Linked DNA regions of Homo sapiens: regions 1 and 2 are each linked to region 3. Evidence: promoter capture Hi-C in 16 types of primary human blood cells and fetal thymus (Javierre and others, 2016). All regions are on one chromosome and are shown on one strand. The core of a region is centred on a gene start or on the middle of the fragment in contact, and the rest is flanking DNA. Distances in the headings are between cores, read along the strand shown. Region 1 overlaps SOS1 (SOS Ras/Rac guanine nucleotide exchange factor 1). Region 2 overlaps SOS1 (SOS Ras/Rac guanine nucleotide exchange factor 1). Region 3 holds the start of DHX57 (DExH-box helicase 57).

Region 1 (4,249 bases), core at 626-3,125, 140 kb before region 3:
ATTGCTTTCTCTCAGTTTCCACTCCTAAACCTGATTATTTAATAATAAATGTTGCAATCCTGGAAGCCAAGGATTCCAGTTTTATTATAATTTTTCACCTAGAAATGTCTATAGTCAGTGTATTTATTTTACTGACCCAAAAATTTAAAAAATCATAGGAAATGTAAATAGGCTGCCTAGATTTTACATGAAAAACAAATAGGTTATTGTCATTTTTTTCCATATAAAGCTGTTTTTTGAGAGGTACAATTTTTCGGTAGTATGACCTGCCGATTTAGTTGTGCTTCACCAACCTTTTCTATGTTCTTTATGATCTAGACTACAACTATAAAAATGTTTTTTATTCAGTTACCCAAAATTTGTGATTGCAAAATACTTCTTTTCTGCTTAAGAGATTTTTAAGGCTATAAAAGTTCAAATTGCCCTTCTTGCCACATTTTCCTGGTTTTTAAGTCCCCTTAGAGGACTCATAGAATTTTTATAACATGAGCATTCTAAACTTTATCATTTCATCCTAAGTACTTTTGTTTGGGGTTCCTAGACTCATTTGGAGTAAAATTAATCTTTAGATTTTTCTCTGTGTTTGTAAGAAAGAAGTTTTAATTTTTTTTTTTTTTTTTTTTTTCCTGTAGAGCATTGTAAGAAGACTTACTACTAGTGTTTACTGTCACAAGTCAGTGATACTTGGGCAGGAAAACATTTTCAAATTACAAAATTTTTAATTGTTTCTGTAAGACTTGATTGAGTGATAGAAGTTTTCTCTAAATTGCTATATTTCACAAAGTTAATTTATGATTATTAATAAGCAGCTGAAGAATGGTTACAACTATTGTCTGGGGAACTGTCCCTTTTATTTATTTTTTTAAATGAGGACACTTTAAAGCAAAATTAACTGGAACAAGCTGATACTTGTTTTGTAGTCCTGAAAGTCTTCTTTCCTTAATGTGTACAATGTTAGGTAAAGTCCGTGGACATGGTACTTTTGTAATGATGTTTTATTAGTTATTTCTGTCTGATACTTCTTTTCTATATCAATTTTTAGCTTTGGTATAGAGTAATATTTTGAGTGCTTTTACTTATAATGAATATAAAACACTTAAATTTCAAGATTTATAGAACTTTGCCAAAGTTAAGTGTATTGAAAATTTAAGTTGATGAGATTATTTTACTTAAAAAAAATGTTTTTAAAAAATTCCTTCCAATAATTTTTTGAGAAATAAAAGGCCAGTGTTGTGGCTAAGTTTTTTGATATTTTTCTTTTCTGTCTTCTTTTGAAGCTTAACTGAATATTTTAATTTATGTCATAAATATATTACTGGTGAAACTGGAGTCTACAAGCAGCTTTCGTGAGTTGTGGTTTACAGTACACACACATTAGTGTTAACTGTTAGCTTATTTGGGCTATTCTGTAAGGTCTGTTACTGAAGTTATTACTGGCAACATAGAATGGTTTTTAATAGACCATCTGTGAACTTGTAAAACTGAAATGGACTTTTAAGGCCTCACTACAATGGTAACAGATCAAGTTACCATTTGTTTTTAAGAACTACTGGTCTGCTCTTCTCCTCTCATCTTTCTTCAGCCTCCCCAAAGAGAAAAGGGATTTGTGATTTGGTTAGTAGGTATGTTTATTGGAGAACATGCAGTACAGGTTGTGGCTTACACTGAAACAAAGCTAACATTTAACTTACACATTTTTATTTTATTATATAGAATTGTAATAAAAGACATTGGATATAATACATGAGAAAATTTAATGAATACTATAAGACACGACTTACAGACATCTTTTAGATTATTATAGTTTGGTTAGACATTGTCATAAAAACAGAAGAGAAACTGGTTTAACCTTACTTTATTCAGACTTCACTGTGGTGTCAGCCAACTTTATCCCTCAAATATTTTAACAGTAATGTACAAAATGGAGCTATAGATCTCTAATGCTAGAAGAGATGCCCAAGCCTTCACTTTGTAGACAAATCCCAAGGCCCCTGAAGATTATATGATTTCCCAGAAGTTCTATTACGAGTTAATTCCAGAACAAGTCAAGAATTAGGTTTCTTGACTCTAAATAGAGTATATTTTCTACCATGTTACATTGACTCATATAAGGTGATTGTTTTCATGAATAGAATATGTTGTAATTTTTTAATTATATGTGTTAATAATTAAGTAAAAGGATCTGGTACAGATGTGAGCTCAAAAAAAATAAATAAATTACTTCCTTGGTTTGAACTGCCAATAATATAAATGGCTTGTTCATTTCTGGGCAAACGTGCGTACTATGAAGATATTGTCAGTAATTTTTTTTTCTTGAAATAGGATATAGGTAAGCTCTGACTATAGATACACTTCCATTGGAATGCATAGATTTTTTATGTATAGATACTGGTCATTATTATTATTTTTATTTTTTTACAAAACCCAATTATTAGTCTATTGATGTAGTTTGCTCACTAAAGGGAAAGCTTTGTGGAAAGAAAAATTTAAATTTAGGTGAATTAGAAAGTGGTTAACTTGCTTAAAAGATTGCAACAGGGTCTTAGGTGGAATCTAATTTATAGCTTGTCTCTCAGATTCGGTGTTTCTGGATGTATCATAATTTGCTGACTATATCAGAACTTTGGGGTTTGTCCCAAAAACTAGGGGAAAAATTATCCAATTGGATGGATCATTCTAAATCTGGCAATGGTATGAAGAGACTATTTCCTTATCCTAAGTAAGAAAGCACAAAGCAATATGCACAAATAAAAAGTTGAGAGTAGGAATTTCACGTCTGTTACAGAGTTGTTGTAGGCAACAAAGTACAAGTTAATGAGACCTAAAACAACACGAGTAGATAAATGGTAGGTGGTGCTGTGTCCAGTTTGGTAGTCTATTTTAGAAAAATGAGATGACCCTGAAGTAAGGATAATAATTCAGAATTGACATTTTATGGGAAATAAAAGCTTTGCATATTGAAGTGAGGGAAAAGGTGTTTCCCTTGCCTGGGAATTTCTCTTTTCCAGAAGATGGTATTGAAAAAACTTAAGCCAGAAGATCGTTTTCTTTAAAGTATTTACTGCTATTTTATACCTTCATAGGGAAAAGCCTCAAAAACCTGAATTAGATTTATTTTGAGTTTGTGTCCTATATAAGCTCAGTTTCGGTGTTTTAACTTATTTAAATCTTTTGAACAATTTTTCATCTATAGGGCAGCGCTGTTCTATTTTTATACTCTCTGATTTTTTAAAAAAGTGTTTGTGCGTCAGCATAGCGTCTGTTTCCTTTTTTAAGGAATTCAAGACTGATTGTTTATAAATCCTTGTTGAGGAGCTTATTGTTTCTTGTAGCTTTTTAAATGGCTGCATTAAAGGGAGAATTATCACATGAACAGACATCCTGATTATAACAGTGTTTTACTGTGGTGGTTGGGGGTGGGGTGGTCTTTACATAAATAACTTTTTTATGTAATAAATACAAATTTCATTGACCTTGTCAAATAAAATGTCATGTCAATCAAAATAGGCACATAAGGAAAAAGGATTGGATTATCACTTCCAATCTATATTCTGAACACTAATGTAGGTATACTCTGAGTTCCTAAAATTTTGAAGTATTGTGCAGTAAAATATCAAATAATGGTTTTATAGTGAGGAAAACAGAGACAGAAGGTCAGCAGAAAAAAATAACTACAGCTTCTGTTTGAAATAACCTGGTTATTTCTGTTTGAAAATAACCTAGCTGTTTTGATTGGGGGAAGCAGAGCAACTAGTGAACATGGTGGAAACCTTAGCGTAGGGATTTGAGAGTCAAGTAGCAAAGTAATGTTATCTCTAATGATGAGGGGGAAAAACTGTAGAAAAAGTTTTGGTTGTTGACCATATTGAAATTCATCAGGAGATCATGTTTGAGAAAGAATTTTGTGGAATTATCTCCACAAGTAAGTGATAAACAGAAAGGAGAATATAAAAATGGGCTATTTTTAATTTTTTTCTAGGATTATATGTTTTTGCTTATGTTATAAAGCCAAACCCAGACTGGCTTTTGTATTTTTATGTGTTTACCTTTCATCTCTCTCTGCAACATGGTTTTAGAATATGGGTAGATAACTGCTGCTCCACAACTAACAACGGCAGTATAAAACTTAGCTTTTACCATTGCCTAATCAATGGAACTAGGTATTCTGTTTTCTTACAGAATTATATAACCTGTCCTTATTGATGGGCATTTGTTTATATTATCTTAGCTCTTTACATCATCAGTAAGA
Region 2 (4,321 bases), core at 1,822-4,321, 160 kb before region 3:
AAAAACTATAAATTAAAATGTAAAGTCAAGCTAATAAAAATGGTCAAAAGCTATTAATAAACAATTCTCAGAAGAGAAGATACAAATAAATGGCGCACAACCATATAAGTAGATTCTCAACCTTACTAGTAATCAGGGAAATACATATAAAAATAACACTGGCATAGTCTCACAACATCAGGCTAACAAATTTTAAGTCTGATAGTATCAAATGTTGACAAGGAAGTGGACAACTGGGAAAAATCACTGCTGCTAAGTATATAAATCGATATAATCACTTTGGAAAGCAACTTCCCCTTCTAGTTTACATGCTCTAAAAAATATTCATGCATATGTGCACACTAAGTTATACAGGCATACCTCAGAGATATCGTGGCTTAGGTTTCAGACTACTGCAATAAAGTGAATGTCACAATAAAGCAAGTCACTATTTTTTTGGCTTACAGTGCATATAAAAGTTATGTTTACACTATCCTGTGGTCTAGTAAGCATGCAGTAGCATTATGTCTAAAACAACATATATACCTAGATTTAGAAATACAGCTAAGAAAATGCTAATAATCCTCTCAGCCTTCAGTGAGTCATAATCTTTTTGCTGGTGAAGGGTCTTGCCTTGATGTTGATGGCTGCTGAAGGTTGGGGTGACTGGCAGTTTAAATAATAAGCAACAATGGGGTTTGACACAACTGTTCGCTCTTTCTTTTATGAAAGATTTCTGTGTAGCTGGTGATGTTGTTTGATAGCACTTTACCCACAGTAGAAATTCTTTCAGTATTGGAGTCAATCCTCTCAAACTCTGCCACCGTTTTATCAACTAAGTTGATGTAATATTCTAAGTCCTTTGTTGTCATAAAAATGTTCATAGTATTTTCACCAGGAGTAGGTTCCATCTCAAGAAACGACTTTTTTTTTTTTTTTTGAGACGGAGTCTCATTTTGTTGCCAGGCTGGAGTGCAGTGGTGTGATCTCGGCTCACTGCAACCTCTGCCTCCCAGGTTCTAGCGATTCTCCTGCCTCAGCCTCCCGAGTAGCTAGGACTACAGGTGTGTGCCACCATGCCCAGCTAATTTTTGTATTTTTAGTAGAGAGAGGGTTTCACCATGTTGGCCAGGATGGTCTCGATCTCTTGATCTCGTGATCTGCCTGCCTTGGCCTCCCAAAGTGCTGGGATTACAGGCGTGAGCCACCGCGCCCAGCCAAGAAACCACTTTCTTTGCTCATCCATAAGAAGCAAATTCTCCATTCAAGTTTTATCATAAACTTGCAGCAATTCAAGTCACATCATCAGGCTCCACTTCTAATCCTATTTCTCTTTCTATTTCCACCACATCTGCAGTTACTTCCTCCAACTAAAGTCTTGAACTTTTCAAAGCCATCCCTGAGAGTTGGAATCAACTTCTTCCAAACTCCTGTTAATGTGGATATTTTGACCTTTCCCATAAATAACAAATGTTCTTACTGGCATCTAGAATGGTGAATCCTTTCCAGAGGGTTTTCAGTTGATTTTATCCAGCTGCAGCAGAGGAATCACTATCTATGTCAGTTACAGCCTTACAGAACATATTTGTGAAATAATAAAACTTGAAGGTCAAAATTATTCCTTGATCCATGGGCTGCAGAATGGATGTTGTGTTAAGAGACTTGAAAACAACATTAATCTCCTTGTATATCTCCATCAGAGCTCTTAGGTGTCTAGGTGCAATGTCAATATTTTGAAAGAAATTTTTTTTTTTCTGAGCTGTTGGTCTCAATAGTGGGCTTAAAGTATTCAGTAAACCATGTTGTAAACAGTTGTACTATCATCCAGGCTTTGCTGTTGCATTTATAGGGCACACCCAGAGTAGATTTAGCACAATCCTTAAGGGCCCTAGGATTTTCAGAATGGTAAGTGAACACTGGCTCAATAGTAATGGTGAAGAAGTTTGAAATATTTCGACACAGAGACAAAATTAGCACATGCTGTTGGAAAAATGGGGCCAAAAGACTTGCTTCACACAGGGTTGCCACAAATCTTCAACTTGTTAAAAAAAAAAAAGGCAATATATGCAAAGCACAATAAAGTGAAGCACCATAAAGTGAAGTGTACCTGCATACCAAGTGCAAATTACAGAATTTTTTTTTATAATTGTGAAAAACAAGAAACAGTTATCTATCAGTGGAGAATGGATTAGAGAAAACTGATATATTCATACAGTAGAATATTATAGTTTTAAAATAAACTGAAAGGAACTGTATGAATCAAAATAGATGAATCTTGAAAAATTTTTGAGTATAAAAGGCAACTTATAGATGAATGTATACATTATGATATTTGGCATATGATCATTTCTGAATTGGAAGAGACCTAAGCTATAAGCATCTCTTCACATTTTTAGTCTTCTCTTCCGTCCACTGTATTCATGCCTGACTCCATCCTCTTGTTGTTTTTGAAACTTTACTATCAATTTCTGTAAAACGTAATAGACTCCAATTTCTGGTGTTATATTATGATAGCAATTTTTAGTTGAGAAGAAAGTTGAAGGAGTTAAAAATTGGGAAGTCAACTAAGAGCCAGCTCAAGGAATCCAGTATGACTTGGAAGTTTACATGCCATATTGCAAAATGCAACAACCAGAACTCACGTCTTCTGATTTCTGATCTGGTGGTATTACTGTTCAATCATTTCTTAAAAAGCAATCTGAGGCCAGGCGCAGTGGCTCACACCTGTAATCCCAGCACTTTGGGAGGCTGAGGCAGGAGGATCACTTGAGTCCAGCAGATCAAGACCAGCCTGGTCAGGCCGGGCGCGGTGGCTCACACCTGTAATCCTAGCACTTTGGGAGGCCGAGGCGGGCGGATCACGAGGTCAGGAGATAGAGACCATCCTGGCTTACACGGTGAAACCCTGTCTCTACTAAAAATACAAAAAAAAATAGCCGGGCGTGGTGGCGGATGCCTGTAATCCCAGCTACTCGGGAGGCTGAGGCAGGAGAATGGCGTGAACTTGGGAGGCGGAGCTTGCAGTGAGCCGAGATCGCGCCACTGCACTCCAGCCTGGCCGACAGAGGGAGACTCCGTCCCAAAAAGAAAAAACAAAAAACGACCAGGGTGGTCAACATGGCAGAAACCCTGTCCCTACAAAATACACAAAAAATGTAACCAGGCGCGGTGGTGTGCGCCTGTGGTCCCAGATACTCAGGAGACTGAGGTGGGAGGATTGTTTGAGCCCAGGGGGCAGAGGTTGTAGTGAGCCAAGATTGCACTACGGCACTCTAGCCTGGGTGACAGAGTAAGACCAAGATCCTGTTTCAAAAAAAAAGCAATCTGAAAAATAACATTAAGGGTGATTTAATTCATAACAACCTTTCGTTGTTTCATTCCCTTCTGCCTTTTTCTACTATGCTCCTCCACTAGATGTCCTATTCCTCTTGCTAGAATTACCCTTTATGGAAATGAGCTCATGCTAGAATCTAGAGCACCATTTTCATAATAGTTTTATACAAGATAGAAGAGTAGCGACTCTATTTCTCCTGCTAAAATCAAGATACCTACTCTCTTTTTCCCCAGAAATCTTCAAAACCAGTAGATTCTGGTCTTTTTAACTGAGCCATTAGAATTTAGTTTATTGATTGGTGATATTAATGATGGCAAAATTTTGGGCAGTTCGGATTTTGTTTAATTGTTTTGTGAAATTATCACAATGAATTTTAGATGACATGAACTGTTACTTCTGGTTTATAGAATACGAAAGTACATGTCCACCACTGAGAACTATAAAAACATGTCTGGCTTCAGTATTCTAAATGTTTATACCTTACCTAGTTGTACATATCTATATTCTTTGTTGTTGTCAAGTTAAGATTTGTTTTCTAGAACCAAAAGTCTGCCCACTCTTATGGCCATGTTTGTTGATAATACTCTACTGGAAACCTTTAATGAGAGCTGTTATAACATATAAGGATTTTATTATTCATCAGAAAGAACTGATTTACTCTCTTACTTGAGAATATTGGGATCTCTTCTATTAAAATTATAATTAGTAGTCATATAATTTTTGCTTAGAGACTTTCAAAGACATACATAATTGTGCTCGCATAGTCGTGCCCCATAATTAAATCTTTCTGTGTTTGTAATGGTAAATTATTTATGTTTTACCTTCTTTATTTTCTAAGGAACTGGCATTTGATCCATATGAATCGTATGCTCGAGATATTTTGCGACCTGGTTTTCATGATCGTTTCCTTAGTCAGTTATCAAAGCCTGGGGCAGCACTTTATTTGCAGGTATAGTAATTTTTAAATGAAGATGTACAATGTCTGAAAAGTAAACTTAAAAAAAAAAT
Region 3 (4,709 bases), core at 1,744-4,243:
TTTCTTCTCTCTACCCCACATCTACTGAATCAGTCTTTACGGGTGGGGCAAGGGAATTTAAAAATTAATTTAGGTACCACTTGAGAAAGGCTTGGAGGCTCATCACTGAGGAAACAGAGTTAACACAATAGGTAGAGGACTTAAACTGTAACATCCTCAGAGAGAAAGGGAGAGTATTAGTATCCTTGAAATAGGAACAGGTGATTACAAAAAACAAAAAACAATTAGCAATCCAGGAAATGAATAATATAATTGGTGAAATAAAACTTCTTAGAAGGGATGAAAAGCAGAATAGATACAATTGAAAACAAATTAGTGAACTGGAACATTAGGTTGAAAAATGTGCTTAGAAAGTAGCACAAAGTGTGAGTGAGATGGCTGGAAAAAAAATTTTTTAATTAAAAAAAAAGAAAGTAGCACAAAGAATTTTAAAATGATGGAAAGTGGATCCAAAAGGCTACTGTCAGTCTAATAAGAATTCCAGAGGGAAAGAATAAGGGATATTTGAATAAATAGCCAAATTTTTCTCAGAACTGAAGAAAATGACTGCTTGGACTACAAATGGGAACTAAGCAAAATCCCACACCTAGACAGGTTACAGTACAATTTCATGACATAAAGACCAAAGGCCAGCTAGGCTAGTTAAAAACAAGCAAACAAAAACCAGATTACCTACAATAAACTACAAAGGACTGACATTAGCAACAGTGGATTCTAAAAAAAAATGGCACTATGTCTTTAAAATTCCGAGACAAAATTATTTTCAACCTAATATTCTACATCCAACGAAACTATCAATCTAAAATCATGGAAACTGGCAGGCACGCTGGTAGGATGAATTACTGGCTCATGCCTGGAATCCCAGCACTTCGGGAGGCTGAGGAGGGTGGGTTGCTTGAGCCTAGGAGTTCGAGACCAGCCTGGGCAACATGGTGAAACCCATTCTCCACAAAAAATACAAGAATTAGCTGGGTGTGGTGTTGCATGCTTGTTGTCCATGCTACTTGGGGGCTGAGGTGGGAGGATCGCTTGAGCCCAGGAAGTGAAGGCTGCAGTGAGTCCGATCACACCCTGCCCTCCAGCCTGGGTGAGACAGCAAGACTCTGTCTTAAAAAAATAATAAAATAAAAAAAATTAAGTTTTAAAAATAGAATCTGGTGGCTCATGCCTGTAATCCCAACGCTTTGGGTGGGTGAGGTGGGAGGACTGCTTGAGCCCAGGAGTTTGAGACCAGCCTGGGCAACATAGTGAGATTCCATCTACACCAAAATTAAAAACTCAAAAAGAAAAAAAAAGAATCTGTAACTAAAACTCAGGTAATATCAATATGGAAATGGTGTGGAGGATAGAGAGCAATCTTGCTAGAATTCTGATCTCGTTTAGGGGTTAAATATAGACACTAATTAACACTAAATCTTAGAAAAATCTGAATTTAGTTATGTTTGCTTATTTTTTCCCCATAATTTCTAAGATTTGGTTGTGGATAAAGGGTGAAGTATGGTGGTATACAGAAATTGCCATGTGTGCTCATTAATTAGTTATTTACATGTCTGCAAGATGTGAAATTCCAAGAGAGCAGGGACACAGAGCTACTTTCTTTCTTTTTTATTTTTTAATTTAATTTAATTTAATTTAATTTATTTATTTATTTATTTATTTTTGAGACGGAGTCTCGCTCTGTCGCCCAGGCTGGAGTGCAGTGGCTTGATCTCGTCTCACTGCAACCTCCGCCTCCCGGGTTCACGCCATTCTCCTGCCTCAGCCTCCCAAGTAGCTGGAACTACAGGCGTCAGAGCTACTTTCTAAGTGTTTAACTAATGATAACTAACTAGATTACCAGATCTGCTTGTAGTTTCCCACAGATGCCATGCCGTACTCTGGGTGGAACACCCTTCTCTTCTTTACCTGGTTAACTGCTATTCATCCTCAAGAGTTGGCAAAATAGAGTGTAGTAGTTAGGGGTTCATGCTCTGGCATCGGACTACCTACCTTTGCATCCAGACTCCACCATTTTCTCTGACCTTGGACAAATAATTATCTTATGCCTCAGTTTCCTCATCCTTAGATGGGGCAAATCAAGTAAATGAGCTAATCTAGTTAAAGCACTTAGCCCAGTGTCTAAACTCTGTAAATATTAGCTATTGTATTCTTGTAGCCCCAGCTCAGGTATGAGCTCTCCCACAAAGCCTTTCTTCTCATTACTTGTCAACCTCAGACTCCTTCAGGAACCCCCACGGCACTCTGGGCCTATTCCTACTGTAGTACTTAAGGTTCTATTAAAACCATGCTTTTGTATCGGGATCCCCTATCCCACCCAGTTCCTCCAGGACACGGATGGCAGATTAGTCAAATCTCTTCTCACCCCACTGTCCGACTCCGTGTTTAGTACTAATAGTAACAGAACGTCTAGTGAATGAAGGGCACTTCGGAAGGAATCGTTAAGTGCCTATGAAGCAGAGCATTAAACGTAATCATATCAGAAACTGGACTGTTTTCAATTGCCGCTAAAATGTTCTACATTCGAAACTTGGGAACGTCAGAGCTAGAGGGAACCTCACAGAGACCACCCGGCACCATAGCGGAAACTGAGGCCCAGGGAGGTTGGCACGCGCCTCGGGTGTCTCAACAGCGAATTAACAACAGAATCAGAGCTAGATTCCCAGACCAGGGGTTCCCCCGTGCCCCTCGGCTAGACGGTCAGGAAATATATCACACCCCCACAGGAGTTACCGGGAGCCAAGCAGGTTCTGACTCCACGCTAGTTCGACTTAAAGGAGCTCTTCTCTGCCCGGGTCGTTAGGAGGAGGGACACTCACTTGGCCGAGAGGTGTTAGAGAGATCTTCCAAACTCTGCGACTCCCCCTGGGCGGCCAGCTCTGCGGCCGGGAGAGAACTAGGCGCTAGGACAGCTCCAGGTGCGACTTGGTTGCTGGGGCGACCGGGCACCTCTCACCCGGAAGCGAATACGCGAGGGGCTGTAGCTGAGCCAATCAGAAGGCGCCGGGACTGTGCCGCTGCAGCTGGGCCACCGCAGGGCTGCTCCAAGTGAGAATCGTGAGGGTGGCCAAGTCCAGTTTGGACCTCTGACCCTTGGGCAGCACCTCCCGACAGCCGGCTCGGGACCCAACTCTGCGAGCCAGGTACGTCTTCCACTTCTGCGGACAAGTGATGCGCGTTGTGCGCACGGTGTGCGCGTCACCCTGTTTGTCAGTGTGTCTGCCGCCTCCTGCTCCAGGAGTGGTCGGGATCTGACGAGCATCGCGGCCCAGTGTGTTTCATCCAGTCTGCCTGGGGCCGGTGAATCTGGACCAGCAGGATCCCAGGCCCTGATACCGAACCAAGGCGGGCTCTGCCGCTGAGGTTGTCCACGCTCAAACTGCAGGTTGGGGCCGGGGGGGGCGGGGCGTGAAATTCAGTCTTGGAGCAGGCTAAGGGGTTGATTGAAGGGATCAGGCTCCGTTCTCTGACTCCGTCTGTGTGGCTTTTTTGGGGAGAAGGGTGGGGACGATGTGAGTTCGAAAAAGGATACGAGATCTGGATATCTGGATGGAGCTGGATATATTGTGATCAGTCAGAGATCTGCCTGGGAGGAGAGTAGTGTGTAGTCACTTTTCAGTGCCTTGGCTATCAAACAAAGAATACTCTTACAGCCAAACTTAGGTCCCTGTATCCATGGTGAAGAAAGATAGTTGGAGTCTTCCCGGGCTAGATGGAATAGATAGTGGAATCTAACCACGTGGATTATACAACCTAATTCCTATTCCCTTGAAAACTCTGGGAGAGTGGTATTGGACACCATTACAGTCAGTAAATCTTCGTTTAAAATGTTAAGCGCATATCTCAGATCTAGTTGTAAAAGTAACATTTTCTGGGTTGGTGTGAGACAACTTGTTTTGATTCAGCGTAAGTATCCTCTTGCTTTTTCCTAATGTTTCTCAGTACACAAATTTACCTGGGCTGCATGGTTTTTGAGATGAAGTTCTAATCTAACTGATTTGTTATTTCATTTCCCTAAATTTTAGAAATAATAGGTAATTATTGGTGCACAACCTTACAGAATTCAGTTTGACCTGTTATTTTTCTTGCCTGTTAAGATTTTAATGACTCTACATTTTTGTGAGTAAAGTTGACGTTTGAACAACATGGGTATGAACTACCCGGCTCCACTTACAGGTGGATTTTTCCCAACCCAACACAGATTGAAAATACAGTATTTCAGGTCGGGCGCGGTGGCTCACGCCTGTAATCCCAGCACTGTGGGAGGCCGAGGCGGGCGGATCACGAGGTCAGGAGATCGAGACCATCCTGGCTAACACGGTGAAACCCTGTCTCTACTAAAAATACAAAAAATTAGCCGGGCATGGTGGCGGGTGCCTGTAGTCCCAGCTACTCAGGAGGCTGAGGCAGGAGAATGGCGTGAACCCGGGAGGTGGAGGTTGCAGTGAGCTGAGACTGCGCCAGTGCACTCCAGCCTGGGCGACAGAGTGAGACTCTGTCTCAAAAAAAAAAAAAAAAAAAAAAAAAATACAGTATTTCAACTAGGCACAGTGGCTCATGCCGGTAATCTCAGCACTTTGGGAGGCCAAGGTGAGACGATTGCTTGAGCTCAGGAGTACGAGACCAGCTTGGGCAGCAAAGCGAAACCTCATTTCTACTAAAAAATGTTTAAAGTAGCTGGGTGTGGTGGTGCACCTGTGGTCCCAGCTATT

Evidence for each region. The method cuts DNA at HindIII sites, captures the fragments that hold promoters and counts their contacts. A CHiCAGO score of 5 or more calls a contact.
Region 1: a contact is called between a fragment that was not itself captured here and the fragment with the promoter of DHX57 in region 3, in 1 of 17 cell types (M2 macrophages). The highest score is 7.1, in M2 macrophages.
Region 2: a fragment that was not itself captured here is called in contact with the fragment with the promoter of DHX57 in region 3 in 1 of 17 cell types (M2 macrophages); the score reaches 5.0 in M2 macrophages.

The regions. Positions count from the first base shown.
Region 1 is chr2:39,017,902-39,022,150 of GRCh38, reverse strand. The region is part of intron 10 of SOS1 (SOS Ras/Rac guanine nucleotide exchange factor 1); the gene reads left to right. Among named protein-coding and RNA genes, the nearest start is that of SOS1, 100 kb to the left of the region's middle. The HindIII fragment of the contact is 1,191 bases long and covers 1,280-2,470 here.
Region 2 is chr2:39,035,331-39,039,651 of GRCh38, reverse strand. SOS1 (SOS Ras/Rac guanine nucleotide exchange factor 1) reads left to right here. Exons shown (of 23, transcript NM_005633.4): 7 at 4,152-4,262. Among named protein-coding and RNA genes, the nearest start is that of SOS1, 84 kb to the left of the region's middle. The HindIII fragment of the contact is 6,152 bases long and covers 1-4,321 here.
Region 3 is chr2:38,874,218-38,878,926 of GRCh38, reverse strand. It overlaps DHX57 (DExH-box helicase 57), which reads left to right and starts at 2,993. Exons shown (of 24, transcript NM_198963.3): 1 at 2,993-3,140. MORN2 (MORN repeat containing 2) reads right to left here and starts at 2,951. Exons shown (of 5, transcript NM_001145450.3): 1 at 2,817-2,951. The coding sequence starts at 2,874. RefSeq lists an enhancer at 2,800-3,784. The HindIII fragment of the contact is 7,829 bases long and covers 1-4,709 here.